Linked DNA regions of Homo sapiens: region 1 is linked to region 2. Evidence: promoter capture Hi-C in human tissues and cell types (Jung and others, 2019). All regions are on one chromosome and are shown on one strand. The core of a region is centred on a gene start or on the middle of the fragment in contact, and the rest is flanking DNA. Distances in the headings are between cores, read along the strand shown. Region 1 overlaps DNAJC7 (DnaJ heat shock protein family (Hsp40) member C7). Region 2 holds the start of HAP1 (huntingtin associated protein 1).

The links. The method cuts DNA at HindIII sites, captures the fragments that hold promoters and counts their contacts. A contact is called where the count stands out against the background at its distance.
Region 1: a fragment that was not itself captured here is called in contact with the fragment with the promoter of HAP1 in region 2 in 4 of the 25 tissues and cell types used here (H1 embryonic stem cells, mesendoderm cells, pancreas and 1 more).

What each region holds. Positions count from the first base shown.
Region 1 is chr17:41,984,741-41,990,024 of GRCh38, forward strand. DNAJC7 (DnaJ heat shock protein family (Hsp40) member C7) reads right to left here. Exons shown (of 14, transcript NM_003315.4): 7 at 4,664-4,817; 8 at 3,992-4,156; 9 at 3,079-3,170. Among named protein-coding and RNA genes, the nearest start is that of CNP, 21 kb to the left of the region's middle. RefSeq lists enhancers at 3,204-3,704, 3,705-4,205. The HindIII fragment of the contact is 3,975 bases long and covers 2,035-5,284 here.
Region 2 is chr17:41,733,214-41,738,318 of GRCh38, forward strand. HAP1 (huntingtin associated protein 1) reads right to left here and starts at 1,430. Exons shown (of 11, transcript NM_177977.3): 1 at 953-1,430. The coding sequence starts at 1,421. RefSeq lists an enhancer at 319-861. The HindIII fragment of the contact is 15,187 bases long and covers 1-5,105 here.

The sequences.
Region 1 (5,284 bases), core at 2,772-5,271, 250 kb after region 2:
TGGGGAATGGGAAGTGATCATGCAGTACAGCTAGCTGCTGTACAACAGAGATTCAATTTCTTACCTGCTACCACACAAGCCCATTTTCTTTCTTTTTTTTTTTTGACACAGAGTCTCACTCTGTAGCCCAGGCTGGAGTGTAATGGCACGATCTCTGCTCACTGCAACCTCCGCCTCCCAGGTTTCAAGTGATTCTCCTGCCTCAGCCTCCTGAGTAGCTGGGATTACAGGCATGTGCCACCACACCTGGCTAATTTTTTGTATTTTTAGTAGAGATGGGGTTTCACCATGTTGGCCAGGCTGGTCTCGATCTCCTGACCTGAACCGATCTGCCCGCCTCGGCCTCCCAAAGTGCTGGGATTATAGGCGTGAGCCACTGCGCCTGGCATAAGCCCATTTTCACAAACATCACAGATCCCCACCAGCTTGGAGGCCAGGGCAGGAGAGTGCTACCAATGTGGCTGGCAAAAGAGAAGCCCAACATCTTGGGCATCTTTGATTTTCTGGCATCATTTTGATTTATGACTTTAAAAAAACCAATGGCCTGCAAATACAGGACATAAATATTATATTAGGAGTTCAGAATCAATGTACAGAATAAAATGTAATAATTTGAAGTAAGAGAAATGATACTTTGATACTGCACTCCAGCCTGGGTGACAGAGCTGGATCCTGAATTAAAAAAAAAAAAAAAAGGAAAATTGATAGCTGATAGCCCTGGGTATAGAATGATGTGACAAATGATTAACCCTGATGAACTTTCTTTAGGTCTATATGTAATGTATTAAACAAACTATACTAATTTGCATTTTTACTTCATGCTTTTTAAAATTCAGGGATATCCTCACATTTTAATTTTGTTTTAAAGTTGAAGTAGAAAAGTAAATAGGGCTTTAAGGAGAAAGGGTGAACTCTAGCTCATGATGGCATGTGTAGCAAAGATGTGGGTGGGTGGCATCTCCCCAGCTTTAGGGGTAAGTTGAGGCAGACTGCAGCAGTAGTCAGGCCAGATGTAAGGGTTTGGCCCGAGCTAATCTCCAGTACTTCTTGTCAATTCCAGCTGCTTCAGGAGATTGTTGCCAAATATTCAGCCAGCTGAACAGGGCATGCTGTCTCCCCTGTAGTGATCTCAGAGGCAGAGCCACTCCAAGAAGGGCAGTTCTGTTTCTACCACAAAGATAAGAAGTTGTCTGATCAAAGCAATTCCTTATTTTCATTTCTTGCACATAAACAAAGAAGAAAATAATCCTTCATCCAATTATCCTCCGAGCAAATCAAGAATTTTCTATGGTGTTGGGGGCTTGCTTAAAAAAAAAAAAAAAAAAAAAAAAAAAAAAAAGGCCGGGCGCGGTGGCTCACACCTGCTGGTAATTCCAGAACTTTGGGAGGCCAAGACAGGCAGATCACTTGTCATCAGGAGTTTGAGAACAGCCTGGCCAACATGATGAAACCCCATCTCCAATAAAAATACAAAAATTTGCTGGGTGTGGTGACATGCGCCGGTAATCTCAGCTACTTCGGAGGCTGAAGCAGGAAATTCGCTTGAACTCAGGAGGTGGAGGTTGCAGTGAGCCAGTACGGTGCTACTGCACTCCAGCCTGAGCGACATAGCGAGACTCCATCCCGAGCGACATAGCGAGACTCCATCCCAAAAAATAAAACAAAGCGATTTTTCTCTTCTCTTCCCATCCCCTGGCATTCCATATACAGAGCATTCCATTAAGTTCATACAGTATCAAGTATCTAGCCACCCCCTTCCCACTGGACATGTAGGTGATTCTCCCCCCGCCTTTTTTTTTTTTTTTTTTTGCTATTATAGATAAAATTGCAGCAAACACCTTCATGTATATAGCATTTTGCGTCTGTTAAAGTCAGTCTTTGGCTGAATCAAAGGGTGCTTTTTTTGTCTTCCAAAGCTTCTGCTTCTGTGTGCCAGTGGTTTGCAAAGATGGAATGACTGACAGTCAGTCTCACAGAAGTTATAATTCCCTGTATGTTTCTGTTGGACAGACTTAGTCATCAACTTAGAAATTCACTTTTAAAAAAAGCATCACACACAGCAGCAGTTTTCCTATTTTAAGTGAGATAATTTTGAGAAAACTAAGTGGGAGGTAGTCCATGAGATATTCTGTACCACTGATGAGACAAGGAAGCTTAAACTACTGGCTCATCAGGCATCAGTGACAGCATCTGTTCTTTGGATATGACATTTTATAATAAGGAGTGGAGCAGGTGCTGGAGGATTAGTATACAATAAATACATCTTCTCTAAGAACTTTAAAGACGGGAAGTTTTTCTCCGCCTAGAGAATAATCTGAAATCAGAAGAGATGGATTTCTGAGAAAGATTTCTCCTAGCCCTGTTCCTATCTGGAGAAAACCAGCTGGTGGGTCTAAGAGTAAGAGGAGCAACCATGCCAGGGAGCACCCTGACTCTGGGGCAAATGTGAGCATTAGAGGTAGGCACATCCTGGCTCATAATCACCCTGTCAGACACAGAGTGCCCTCCACTCAAAACACTCAAGCAGAGAGTAGCCATCCAGGGTGTTTCAAAAGGAAGTTCCTTTATCCTGGGAGGCTGAGCCGGATTACATCTCTTCCAACTCTAAGATTGTCTTCCCTCGCCCAGAACAAACAGGATGAAGTACAACTCTCAACTGTCTCCAAGAGTTGTTTTCTCTTCCAAGCACCATACATTCATTCAACAAAACATTTATTCAGTGAGCACCTATGTGTCAAGCACTGTGCCAGGGTAGAGCATAAGTGTACAACACAAAATAAAATCTCCAAAGGAAATGGATTTAAACTTTTTAACAAAAGGAATTTGGGTCAGGCATCAGAGGAAACTTACTGACCGTGAGGGGCGTTAGACACAGGCATGGGAGACTGAGGGAGCTTGTGCAATCTCCTCCGCTGGAGGTCTATAAAGATAGTCTAGGGCTGGAACAATCCCACCTAGAGGCAGGGGGAAGGACCAAATGACCTCACAACATCTCTGGGTCTGCTTCGTCATCCACAAGGCAATTCCCCTGAGGCCAGCGGCAACTCCCTCTTCCCCCTACCCATCAGAGGCACTTACCACTGAGCTCTTCTCAAGTAGGCTTTTATGTAAGTGTCATCAAGCTTCACTGCATTTGTGCAGTCTTCTATTGCATCATCTAGTTTCCTAAGCTTCAGGAGAGAGAGAGCAATCATACTTCACACCTTTGGTGACTGAGGGAGCCCAGAAGCTGTGAGCATGGCTTCAAAACTCTAAGAGGATCAGTCATGCTGGCCCCTTAAATGTCATATTAAGTTCTAGTTCTTTGTCACCAGGGCTATGGACAGCAACTTCAAAATTGATTTCTCTTGTATATGATACAAGCCAGGCACATCTGTCTTCAAGGATAAACTACCTTTACCATTCCATGTTAGTGCCCAATGAAAACATGAAAATAGTAAGGCTGGTTCCTGCCCTCCTTTTTTCCAGAGGTCACCTGCAGGGATCAGAAATCACTCTGATTTTTAACTGCTAGAATTCTGCAAGGGCAAGGAGTCTACTTTTTGTTTCTGATGTTGGGTAGGGCCACAAAAGCACTCAGGCCATTTTCAACCATGCATGGTGACCATCAATTACACTGGAGAAAAACAAGCTTGCCTCATACTCTTCCTCCAAATCACTCCTAAAAAATAAATGATCACTTGCATAAGCAAAACAACAAAAAAGCAACAGTAGGTGCTTAAGATTATCCCACAGACCCTAGCCATTCTCTTACTGGAGGAAAGGGACCTTAATGAACAGGTGAGAATATCCTTGCAAATTGTCCAACTGCCCTCAAATTCCATAGAGATGACAAAAGCTTGCCTCTTGGAAGGGAGTTCCTAACAAACTATTAACCATAACAACTTTCCCTCTTTCATCTTGCTTACCCTCACTAGGCAGATTTCCCAAGACCCTTTGATGTCCCTTAAAAATATTTCTATAGGCCCCAAGATCTAGATCAAGAGCTTACCTTGGAATTAACCGTACCCCGATTACAGTAGAGTTTAGCATTTGTTTTTATATTGTTGGGGTCTATCCCCAGGGCTTCTGTGTACAGTTCATATGCTAGTTTGTAATTTCCTTCCTTAAATGCTTTATTCCCATCTTCTTTCTTTGCTTTGAGTGCTTTGGCATTCTACAGAAAAAAGCAAGGGGAGGATCGGTTCATATCCACAAAGCCTCAGACCATTGCACAGAGAGGCCAGACTCTATTTTCAAGTTCTTTGCTTCCAGCAGTTCAGCATCACAGAGCCCCGCCAACCCCCAATCTGGGCTATCTGTTGCTCATTTGAGCTTCCTACAGAGTGGACAGGAAAAGAGTTACCAAAAATACCAATGAGACCTATGTTACTGGGTCTGCCTTCACTTCTCAGGACAAGTATTACTATCTATCTTCACTGAGGGGAAAAACAAAACAAAAAAACCCTCTTAGATATTAAAGGCATCCGACCCTATATGATCACATCTACCTTTAGGTAAATACAAGTAGTCCTGAAACCATTTCTAATAAAGACCAAGCATCCTTGCAAAGCAGGAGGAAAAGCTATCACATTCCTTGTGATTCTAAAACCTTCCACTCTAGCCATCTTAAAGGTCCCAAAAGGAAGCTCTTTCCCAGTTAGGTCTGGTGACTAGAACTTACTCTGCAGGCAATGCAGGCCTTCTCGTGGTCAGGAGCCATCCTGAGAGCCTGTACGAAAAACTGAACTGCCTTCTCAATACAATCTTCGTAATAAAGGCAAAGACCTCGTACATACAGAGCATCTGCATTGGTGGAATCCATTCGTAGAATGTCACTGCAATAGTCAGAAAAGGGCACATTGAGCTGTGCTTTAGAATGTCCCCACCATTACTACCATTTGTGGCCAGTTTTCCTCCTTGACCATGTGTCTAGCATTCAAAATATCCAAAGGTAGACAGATTCCCAAGAACTGTTCCCAAACTTTCCCCAAATAAACCACCTATAATTATCTTTAATACACATCTTGTGTCTTACAATCCTTATTAAACTAGAACAGGGTTTGGCAAACTACAGCCCACAGGGCCAAATCCTTTCTGCCACTGGTTTTTGTAAATAAAACACTATTCAAACAGCCACACCCATTGGTTCATCTATTATCTAGGGCAACCTTTGCACTGCAATGGCAGAGTTGAGTTAGTTGCAACAGAGACCCTGTGGCCTGCAAAGGCTAAAATCTGGCCCTTTGCAGAAAGTGTGCCAACCAGTGGAGTAGAAGGAAAAGGACTACCTTAAACAAACAAA
Region 2 (5,105 bases), core at 180-2,679:
GCTTATTTTTGTATTTTTAGTAGAGACGGGGTTTCACCATGTTGGCCAGGCTGGTCTCGAACTCCTGACCTAGTGATCCGCCCGCCTCGGCCTGCCAAAGTGCTGGCTGGGATTACAGGCGTCAGCCACCGCGCCCGGCTTTTTTTTTTTTTTTTTTTTTTTTACCCCTGGAGGAGCCTGAGGTAAGGGGGTCACAGTCCTCCAGGCTCAGAAACTGGGCTCTCCGGACACCTGGGTCCCTGGCGCCTAGAATGGAGACAGCCAGGGGAAGTACAGCCTCAGACTGGCTCATCACCCCCTACCCAGGAGGCAGTGCAATGGAGTCTCCTGGGTCATACAAACAGACGCAGCCACTCACCCTGCACCTGTTGCGTGTGCAGAGGACAGGAGGAAGACTTCACCAGATTAGGAGACACTCGAGCCTCTAGGCCCAATCCAGAGATCTCCCCCGACCCGCAGGAGGATAGGAGAGACAAGGGGCAGGAAAAGAGCGCGACTTTGCCCCCATACCCGCAACCAAAAAGTGGGCAAAACTTCCCCCTCCGCCCGCCCACCCACCCCTCCATCGCACGCAAGCCCGGTCGGCCAGCGCAGACTCAGAGCGCGCGGGACAGCGCCCTCCCGCAGCCCCCCGCCCCTCTCCTGGCACTGCGGTAGACCCAGGAGAGGGGCGCTGAAGGGGTGCAGATCTGCCGCAGCAAGAGGCGCGTGGAGGTGGGTGGGCGAGCGTGCAGGCCCCAGAACCTGACTCACGGGCACAAACCAGGGGACAAGAGCAGAGGAGGAGATGGAGAAGGGGCGACCAGACAGACACCGCAGTGACATCGCGGGGGTGGTGGACGGGTGACACTGAGTGCTAGAGGGGGCGGGGTGCCTGGACCCGATGGGGCCACTTCCTCCCTGGAGTTGCCCCAGTCCCCACCCGGTCCAGGACCCCGGGGGCCCGATTTACCTTCCTCCAGCTCCCGAATAAAGGCGGCGCGCTCAGGGCCGGACACCCCGGGTCGCCGGCCAACGTAGGCGGCTGGCGTCTTCCAGATGCCCGCTGCCTTTCCAGTCCCCCGGCCAGTGGCCCGGGAACCAAACGGCCCTTGGAATACGAAGCGGGTCCACGGCGCGTCCGAATTGTCGGGCATAGACCGGACATCCCCTTGGATGGCCGAGAATGCGGACGGGCGCCGGGCTCCTGCCTTGGCTCCAGCCTCCGAGGCCGGGCGAGCTCCGGTGCGGGCTTCCGAGAGGAACTGGGATCCAGAGGTGGCTCGGGATCCTACTCTCTGTCCAGTGCCCCGTGCCTGCGGCTGCGCAGAGGGCTCCGGAGCGGGACTGGCTGAGGGCGAAGGTGCACAGGTGAGTGCTGCTGGGTCCCCGGGTCCGAGCCGGCTCCCCGCGCAGCACCGGCCCAACCTCTTCGGGCGCATCTCGAGTCTGCCGTCCGCTGCTGCGGCGGGACCTTTATAACCTGCGCCAGCCGCCGGGCCGGACCACGCGTAGGGGTGGGGGCTGCCGAGAAGCAACTAGTGGCAAGCGGGACTCAGAGCCGCGCGGGAGGGGAGCTAGTGGTGACGGAACAGAGCACAGTAAGAAAAGCAGGGCAAGAAGGGCGAGTGCAAGTTCCGGATGGCTCCGAGTTGGGATGGGAGCGAAAGATTTTTTCTGCCCTCTCCATCTCCGGAGAATGGTTCTGCCCAAAGCCGCGGCTGCCCCAGCACTCGCGGGTCCCTGGCTGGGGGCAGCCCCTCCCCAGCTGCCGCGCCGGGGTTTCGGGTGCCTTCCCTGGTGTAGAAGCTGCCAACCCAACGTTGTGCATACGGTCTGGGGTGGCCAGTGCATTAGGGCAGCGCTGCGTCTTTCCCGGTTGACTGGGAGAGACATTCCAAACTCCAGTGCGCTTCCAACGTGCTGCAACCCTGCCTGGCGCTGCAACCCTGCCTGGCGCTGCAACCCTGCCTGGCGCTGCAACCCTGCCTGGCGCTGCAACCCTGACCCTCGCGCTCACACCCCAGTGCTCGCGCCACTCGACGTCTTCCATTTGATTGGATTAACTGTTCTTCACCTCCAACCCTAGTTCGCTTTGCCCTCCTCTTGCCATGCTGGCGAACCCCTGTTCTCCTTGGGAGACGCCTCTTAAAAGTCTCCCTGTAGCCGGGCGCAGTGGCTCACGCCTGTAATCCCAGCACTTTGGGAGGCCGGGGCAGGCGAATCACCTGAGGTCAGGAGTTCCAGACAAGCCTGGCCACCTGGTGAAACCCTGTCTCTACTAAAAATACAAAAATTAGCCAAGCATGGTGGCGTGTGCCTGTAGTCCCAGCTACTCAAGAGGCTGAGGCAGGAGAATTGCTTGAACCTGGAAGGTAGAGGTTGCAGTGAACCGAAATTGTGCCAATGCACTCCAGCTGGGGCTACAGAGCGAGCCTACCCCTCAAAATAAATAAATAAATAGAATACTTTTTTTTTAAGTATCCTACTGGAAATGTTGGGTAGACAATTAGATGTATAAATCTGAATGTAGGGGAGAGACCGGGCTGGAGATTTAAATGTAGGAGTCATTGTTCTTTGATGACCATTTAAAGCTATGAGACTGGTGAGATCCCCAAGAGACTGAGAGAAGACAGGTAAGAGCGCCCAGGACTAACCCCCTAGGATTCAGAGGGCAGAAAGAAGAAGAGGAGGCATCAAAGGAAGACTGGGATGAGTGGGGCAGTGAAGTAGAGGAAAACCAGGAAAGTTGGGTCCTAGAAAGTAAAGAAAATGTTTCATGTAGAGAGTGGCCACCTGTGTTGGGTGGTGCTGTTGGGCCAGGCAAAGACTGAGGACAGAGACTCAGCTTGGCAAACTGGGGTCATGGGCAACCTTGGTGAGCTGGGGTCATGGCCTCGGCAAGAGCGGTCTTGCGGGGCCAGGCACAGTGGCTCACACCTGTAATCCTAGCACTCTGGGAAGCCAAGGCAGGTGGATCACCTGAGGTCAGGAGTTTGAGACCAACCCAGCCAACATAGTGAAACCCCATCTCTACTAAAATACAAAAATTAGCTCGGTGTGGTGGAACAAGCCTGTAAGCCCAGCTACTTGGAAGGCTGAGGCAGGGGAATTGCTTGAACCCAGGAGGCAGAAGTTTCAGTGAGCCGAGATTGCACCACTGCACTCCAGCCTGGGCAACAGAGCAAGACTTGTCTCAAAAAAAAAAAAAAAAAAAAAAAGAGCGGTCTTGGTAGAGGGGGTGAGAGAGACCAAAGAGGAGTGAGGAAATAACGAGAGGTAACAAAATGAAAACAGAAAGAAGGCTAGGCGCTGTGGCTCACACCTATAATCCCAGCACTTTGGGAGGCTTAGGAGGGTGAATTGCTTGAGCCCAGGAATTTGAGGCCAACCTGGGCAACATGGCAAAACCCTTTCGCTACAAAAAAATACAAGAATTGGCCGGGCGCAGTGACTCACACCTGTAATCCCAGCACTTTGGGAAGCCTAGGCGGGTGGATCGCCTGAGGTCAGGATTTTGATACCAGCCTGGCCAACATAGTGAAACCCCGTCTCTACTAAAAATACAAAAAATTAGTTGAGCATGGTGACGGGTGCCTGTAATCCCAGGTACTCAGGAGAATCGCTTGAACCCGGGAGGCGGAGGTTGCAGTGAGCCGAGATTGCGCCATTGCACTCCAACCTGGGCAACAAGAGCGAAACTCCGTCTCAAAAAAAAAAACATAGCTGGGCATGGTGGTGCATACCTGTACTACTTCAGGGGCTGAGGTGGGAGGATCACCTGAGCACAGGTCGAGGCTGCACTCCAGCCTGGGTGACAGAGCAAGACCCTGTCGGAAGGAAGGAAGGAAGGCGGGAGGGAGGGAGGGAGGGAGGAAGGAAGGAAGGAAGGAAGGAAGGAAGGAAGGAAGGAAGGAAGGGAGACAGTATAGAAAACTGTATTGAAGAAATCTGCAACAAAGGAGAGCTGGAAAAGGGCACAGGAGCTGAAGGAGGACATGAGTGCTGGGGAGTGTGTTTTGAAGATGGGAGAGAGGACAATATGTTTACATGCTGATGGAAATGTTCCCTCAGGGAGGAGAAAACAGGTGCAGAAAAGAGAGCTTATCTCCCAGAATACTTCTGGAAATGGAGGAACTTTCATAACATAACCGTTCTCCTCCTTGTTCAAAGTCTGCATGTTTTATTTTCTTTCTTTCTTTCTTTCTTTTTTTTTTCTTTTTTTGAGACGGAGTTTCGCTCTTGTTGCCCCAGGCTGGAGTGCAATGGCACGATCTCGGCTCACCACATCCTCCACCTCCCGTGTTCAAGCAATTCTCCTGCCTCTGCCTCAGCCTCCCCAATAACATGCGTCACCACATCCGGCTACTTTTGTCTTTTTAGTAGAGACGGGGTTTCTCCATGTTGGTTAGGCTGGTCTCGAACTCCCGACCTCACGTGATCCGCCTCCCCCTTGGTCTCCCAAAGTGCTGGGATTACAGGCGTGAGCCACTGTGCCCAGCCCAAAGTCTGCATGTTTCCTATGGTTTCTTTGTCAGCAGAAAGCTTGAAGGAGACACACAACCCCAGGGTTTGCTACGACAGTGAGGTTGAAGAACATAAGGAGGTGGCTGTTCGGGCATCGGCACAGCCCAGGCTTCCGTGAGGCTACAGCTCCATAGGCTCTGCCGAGTGGTCCTCCCACAGCCCAGCTTCCTGGACTGTCTCTCTGTGCCTTGGACATCTCTGCAGCCCCAACCACCAAGCACAGAACAGGGCATACAGAAGAAGCCTATTACACTCCTGCTGAATTAAATTGTTTCTGGCCCCATGAGGAAGAAGCCCTGGGAAACCCCTGGAGAGTTTGACGGGGAAGAAGGCAGAGGCAGTGGGATGGAGAAGACAGAGATGAAGTTAGGAGACCCTGAAAGCTCCCCCAGCTGACCACACCCTCTAGGTCAGCGCACTGGCAGCCAGCAACTCTGGCTACGGCCACCAGAGGGCAGTGTCAGCCCGTATACCTCCCCACGTGGCTTCCTCACCTACAGGCTCAGTCGCCCCACAGAAAGTGGAGTAGGGACAGAGACTCCATTTTACAAATGGAGAAACCAGGGCTCAGGGCCCGTCATTCTGGAAGTAAGCATTTT